2 separate regions of the Homo sapiens genome follow, and region 2 is linked to region 1. Evidence: promoter capture Hi-C in human tissues and cell types (Jung and others, 2019). All regions are on one chromosome and are shown on one strand. Each heading gives the region's core, a stretch centred on a gene start or on the middle of the fragment in contact. The rest is flanking DNA. Distances are from core to core; before and after follow the strand shown. Region 1 overlaps ZNF878 (zinc finger protein 878). Region 2 holds the start of ZNF136 (zinc finger protein 136).

What was found. Contacts are between HindIII fragments. The study calls those that stand out against the background at their distance.
Region 2: a contact is called between the fragment with the promoter of ZNF136 here and a fragment that was not itself captured in region 1, in 2 of the 25 tissues and cell types used here (bladder and heart right ventricle).

The regions. Positions count from the first base shown.
Region 1 is chr19:12,044,707-12,047,568 of GRCh38, reverse strand. It overlaps ZNF878 (zinc finger protein 878), which reads left to right. Exons shown (of 4, transcript NM_001080404.3): 2 at 809-935; 3 at 1,141-1,201; 4 at 2,360-2,862. ZNF433-AS1 (ZNF433 and ZNF878 antisense RNA 1) reads right to left here. Exons shown (of 3, transcript NR_134929.1): 3 at 1,294-1,487. Among named protein-coding and RNA genes, the nearest start is that of ZNF878, 6.8 kb to the left of the region's middle. The HindIII fragment of the contact is 5,656 bases long and covers 1-2,862 here.
Region 2 is chr19:12,161,580-12,164,530 of GRCh38, reverse strand. It overlaps ZNF136 (zinc finger protein 136), which reads right to left and starts at 1,435. Exons shown (of 4, transcript NM_003437.5): 1 at 1,325-1,435. The coding sequence starts at 1,327. RefSeq lists enhancers at 1,335-1,494, 1,505-1,594. The HindIII fragment of the contact is 18,447 bases long and covers 1-2,951 here.

The sequences.
Region 1 (2,862 bases), core at 11-2,510:
TTTAACCGATGGAGTCTGGCTCTGTCACCCAGGCTGGAGTGTGGTGGCACGTTTTTGGCTCACTGCAACCTCTGCCTCATGGGTTCAAGTGATTCTCCTGCTTCAGTCTCCCAAGTAGCTGGAATTACAGGAGCCCATCACTATGCCTGGCTAATTTTATTATTTTTAGTAGAGACGGGGTTTTGCCATGTTGGCCAGGTTGGTCTCAAACTCCTGACCTCAGGCGATCCGCCCGCCTTCACCTCCCAAAGTGCTGAGATTTATAGGCATGAGCCACCGTGCCTGGCCAGACTCTCTTATCAGTTAGATTAATAAAGCCCCTTGCCAAACCCAGTTTTTTTGTTTTTGGCTTCTGCTACTGGAATCAGAAGAAAACCCACTTTCTAGTCATCACAAAGGTTCAACTTTGTGAACAGGCGTTTTCAAGAATATGCAGGCTTAGGGCTGCTCACGTTAAATTTGTTTTGCTCAGAAATTCAAAGGAGTTTGTTAAGATAGGTGCTGCAGATCCACACTTCGGACATTAAGGGCAGTCCAGGCAGCACGACTTTCTCCCTGGACTCACCAGAAACACACATTTTTCCTATTCTGCTGTTGCTTTACCCCATCCAGAGTTCAACTCTAGCATCAAAATTGTTTTATGGAAGAAAGTGAGTGTAGACAGAGTAAGGGATCTGATGACCAAGTCATGGAATAAATGTTTGGAGTCCACACACCACAGCATCCTGAGAACTTCCTAGGAATAGGGTATAGAAACCCAGTGCTGTCAGCCTCACTCATCCTCCTGTCCACATGTGGGATATTTCAGGATTCGGTGGCCTTTGAGGATGTGGCTGTGAACTTCACCCAGGAGGAGTGGGCTTTGCTGGATCCTTCCCAGAAAAATCTCTACAGGGAAGTGATGCAGGAAACCTTGAGGAACCTGACCTCCATAGGTAAGAATGACAGTATTACTTCCCTCAGTGAATTAAAGAACAGGTGTTTCTAGCTCATCAGTGCTGTTGAGTGATTTGGAATATGGTCAGGGAATACTTTGAATAAATGAGACACAGGTGCAATGAGCCATGGACATAGAATCAAGTAACTTTTTAAAATAATTTTATACTAATTCAGGACTATTTTTCTGGGTCCGCATTTTAGGAAAAAAATGGAACAACCAGTACATTGAAGATGAGCACCAAAATCCTAGGAGAAACCTAAGGTAACTGGCACTTAAAAGAGAAAACAATGTCTCTGTATACAATCTTAGAATGGAAGAAAAGGTTAAAAAGAAGCAAGCATAAGAAACAAACCTAGTTCCAATGTATTTATTCTTAGAAAAGCTTCCCTAGAAACATATAAAGTGTGACATGGCTTATGTGTATAATCCAGCCCTTTTGGAGGTCAGGATGGAAGATCGCTTGAACCTGGGAGTTTGAGGTTGCACTGAGTCATGATGGCATCACTGGAGGGCAGCCTGGGCCACAGGGTGAGACCCTGACTCAAAACTAAACAGACAAAAAGACAAAGACCGTATTTATAAAATAGTCTACTTTAAAATAGCATGTAAAAGCTGGACATGGTGGCTCACACCTGTAATCCCAGCACTTTGGAAGGCTGAGGTGGGTGGATCATGAGGTCAAGAGATTGAGACCATCCTGGCCAACATGGTGAAAGCCTGTCTCTACTAAAAATACGAGAAATTAGCTGGGCGTGGTGGTGCGTGCCTGTAGTCCTTGGGAGGCTGAGGCAGGAGAATCGCTTGAACCTGGGAGGCGGAGGTTGCAGTGAGCCAGGATGGTGCCACTGCACTCCAGCCTGACGACAGAGTGAGACTTGGTCTCATAAATAAATAAATAAATAAATAAAGCATTTAAAATCCCTGTATCAATATTATCTTTTTTGATAAGAGATATGGCTGGGCCATCTTTGTTTGTTTGTTTGAGACAGTGTCTCGCTCTGTCACCCAGGCTGGAGTGCAGCGGTGTGATCTCGGCTCACTGTAAGCTCTGCCTCCCGGGTTCACACTATTCTCCTGCCTCAGCCTCCCCGTAGCTGGGACTGCAGGCACCTGCCACCACGCCCGGCTAATTTTTTGTATTTTTTAGTAGAGACAGGGTTTCACCATGTTAGCCAGGATGGTCTCGATCTCCTGACCTCATGATCCACCCTCCTCGGCCTCCCAAAGTGCTGGGATTACAGGCGTGAGCCACCATGCCTGGCCTGGCTAGGCCATCTTGTATAGCATGTGTTCCATTCATGTTCAGACAGGACAGAAAGCCTACACTTTGCTGGGCACTGTTAAAAATGCAAGTGTAATACTTGCAAAGGAATTAAAATTAGTGATAAACCCATTATAATGTGCTTTCATTGTTCACAGAAGACTTATAGGGGAGAGACTCTCTGAAAGTAAAGAAAGTCATCAGCATGGAGAAGTTTTGACACAGGTTCCAGATGACACACTGAAGAAGAAAACTCCTGGAGTACAATCATATGAAAGCAGTGTGTGTGGAGAAATCGGCATAGGTCTTTCATCCCTTAATAGGCACCTCAGAGCCTTTAGTTATTCCAGTAGCCTTGCAATACATGGAAGAACTCACACTGGGGAAAAGCCTTATGAATGTAAGGAATGTGGGAAAGCATTCAGGTTTCCCAGTTCTGTTCGTAGACATGAAAGAATCCACTCTGCAAAAAAACCCTATGAATGTAAGCAGTGTGGGAAAGCATTCAGTTTTCCCAGTTCTGTTCGTAGACATGAAAGAATCCACTCTGCAAAAAAACCCTATGAATGTAAGCAGTGTGGGAAAGCATTATCTTATCTTGTAAGCTTTCAGACACACATGAGAATGCACACTGGAGAGAGACCTCATAAATGTAACATAT
Region 2 (2,951 bases), core at 186-2,685, 120 kb before region 1:
GCAGAGGTTGCAGTGAGCCGACATCACGCCACTGCACTCCAGCTTGGGCGACAGAGAGACTCCGTCTCAAAAAAAAAAAAAAAAAAAAAAAGTTATCTGGGAGTGGTGGCGCAAAACTGTGGTCCCAACTACAGGGGAGGCTGAGGCAGGAGAATCGCTTGAACCCAGAAGATGGAGGTTGCAGTGAGCCGAGATCACGTCACTGCACTCCAGCCTAGGCGACAGAGCGAGACTCTTTCAAAACACACAAAAAATTTTCTTTTCTCAATCCTCAATACCAGCATCTGATTGGCTGACCACCAGTGTGTCTCCAAAGGATGGAAACTGGGGTTGGGGGAGGAAAAGCTGAGTGCCCCCAGAGGTTGGCTATTTAGAAGCAGGGTATGCTAGATTTATCCTAGTCCCAGGGCATTCTCCCAGCCTTCTATTTCAACTGTCCTCTAGGAAGACTCACCCAAGACCCAATATTCACTAGATCCTCCAAGAGACTTGGCAGCTGTGGGCAGCTTGAGTCAGCCCCAGACAGTTTTGAAACCCAGAACCAGGAAAAAATAAATAGGAGGGGGCGCTGAAGGCATATCACCCTGTAAAGATTCCAAAGGGGAACCTCAACTCAAAGACATTCTGATGAGGTATCTGTGCATAGAGGAGACAAAAGGACAAGCACAAAGGTTTCTTACAGCGGAGTGTCAAGGCTATGAACAGAAAACAAACCTTGATGAAAGAGTAATCCATTGCTTTGTTGAAAAATAAACAATGAAAGCACAATATCTGAAATGTAGAATATAGGAGAAACGGTTGCTAATGTCGTGAATGGAAGGGGAGAGGTTGGCGTTTGGAAAAGCGAAAAGAGAACAGGAAATTTGGGGATTTACTGCAAGCCCTGGAAACAGCAGGCTGGGGGACAGAGTGAGGATTTGGGACCCTGCATCCCATACACTTAGAAAACTCAGGGAAAAACGGGTGTCCTCTGTGGAGAGAAAAGGAACTGGGAACCTCATACACCACAGCTCCTTCCACGCACAAGTCAGGATTTCCCCCACCCCATGACCCTCGCGTGGGCCCCGCACAATCTGAAGAGACTTGGGTCTTCGGGGCCGGGGCCGCAATCGCGGCACAGGGCGGGACGAGGACGCCCGGGGTCCCGGCTGCCGGCCCAGCCCCACCCTGAGGCCGAGGGTACCAAGGGCTGAGCTGCGCCAGAGGGACTCGGTACGCAGACCCAGAGTCGCCCACGGGAAGGCCCGGGCCGCGCCACAGCCAGTTCCGGTCGTCCAACCAGCCCCTCCTCCCTGTCTCGGGACGCAGGGCCCGACACACTCACCATTTCCTGACTCCCGGGTGTCCCAGCTTCCTCCCTCCGGATCCCAAGGCAGGTACAGGAAACCGCGCCACAGAGACTCCAGGCGAGCCACTCTGGGCCTCTGGGACTAGCGAAGCGAAACCAAGTACGGCAGACGCGAGAAATGAAAATCCCGCGAGAAGGTTGAACGTCTGCAGCTGCGTCCCCGACGGCGCGCCTGATTGGACCGATCGCAGAGCTCCTCCCCGGTGCCCCTGATTGGGTACAGCTTCGGGCTCTGCCCCCTGCATCTTGACAGATGTGAATGACAGGAGATGTGAAGCATAGATGAGTGAAGCGGGAATGAGGGGTCTTGGCCCCAGCCCTCAAACGCAGGGTGGACTTCTTCCCCTCGTCCCCTTCACTGTACTTGGTCTGCGGGGGATGGGGAGATGGGAGATACTTGCATTTTAGCAGAACTTAATCCGGGTTTACCAAAGGAGATACTTCCTGTACTCAGTGGGTCATTTCTTCATCTACCTCTTGCATGAGGAGTCACAGGTGTGCGCAGGGAGTTCCAGGCAGGACTGGAACAGAAGAAAGGGCGTGATATTCCCAGGGATCGGAAATTTGGGATGAGGATATGGGAAGCGTGCCCAAGGCTTTCTCATACCATACCTCTTTATCTCTCTCTATTTTTTACTTTATTTACTTATTTATTACTTTATTTACTTATTTATTACTTTATTTATTTATTTGAGACAGGGTCTAGCTCTGCCACCCAGGTTAGAGTGCAATGGCATGATCATAGCTCACTGCAGCCTCCATCTCCTGGGTTCAAGCGAACCTTCCGCTTCAGTCCCCTGAGTAGTAGAGACTACAGGTACATGCCACCAAGCCCGGCAAATTCTTTAATTTTTTGTAGAGACGGGATTTCGTTTGTTGTCCAGGCTGGTCTTGAACTCCTAGCCTCAAGTGAACCTCCCACTTTCGCCTCCCAAATCAATCTACTCATTTTCACCCAAGAAAATAAAAAACTGCCAACAAGTGAATAAAATTATTAAATACATGGAAAAACAAGTTCTATTTCCGTAATCTGTAAAGAAATCAAAAGGGAAGTAAAGCGAAAATTTGAACTAGCTCAGATAAGCAGGGCACTTCAGAACATTTAAAAAGGAAAAGATGAATTCAGAAGGTAGAACATATTCCCAAGCTTAAGAGTCAGTGACTGCTGAAGTGGAGCCACAGAGTACATTAGACCCTGATGATGAGGCAGGAAACCTAAGGATTTAACTCTGGGAGCTCAACATGCCCTCCTGTCACAGCATCACAATGTGGGAACGCTCCCTCCTTCAATACCTTAATAATTTACACCAGCAGAAAACTCTCACCTGTGGTCAATTTAGGCCCCTTGAAATTCCAACCTCTCTAGCTCATAAACCATTTCTCTGGAACGCTACCTAAATGAGTCTCTAAATATGATCTTTACATATTTTCTTCATATATACAAATTACAGCCTGACTGCAGCAACTCTATACATAGAAAAATCAAGGCCGGGCACAGTGGTTCATGCCTGTAATCCCCAACACTTTGAGAGGCCGAGGCGGGCGGATCACTTGAGGTCAGGAGTTCAAAACCAGCCTGGCCAAGATGGCGAAACCCCGTCTC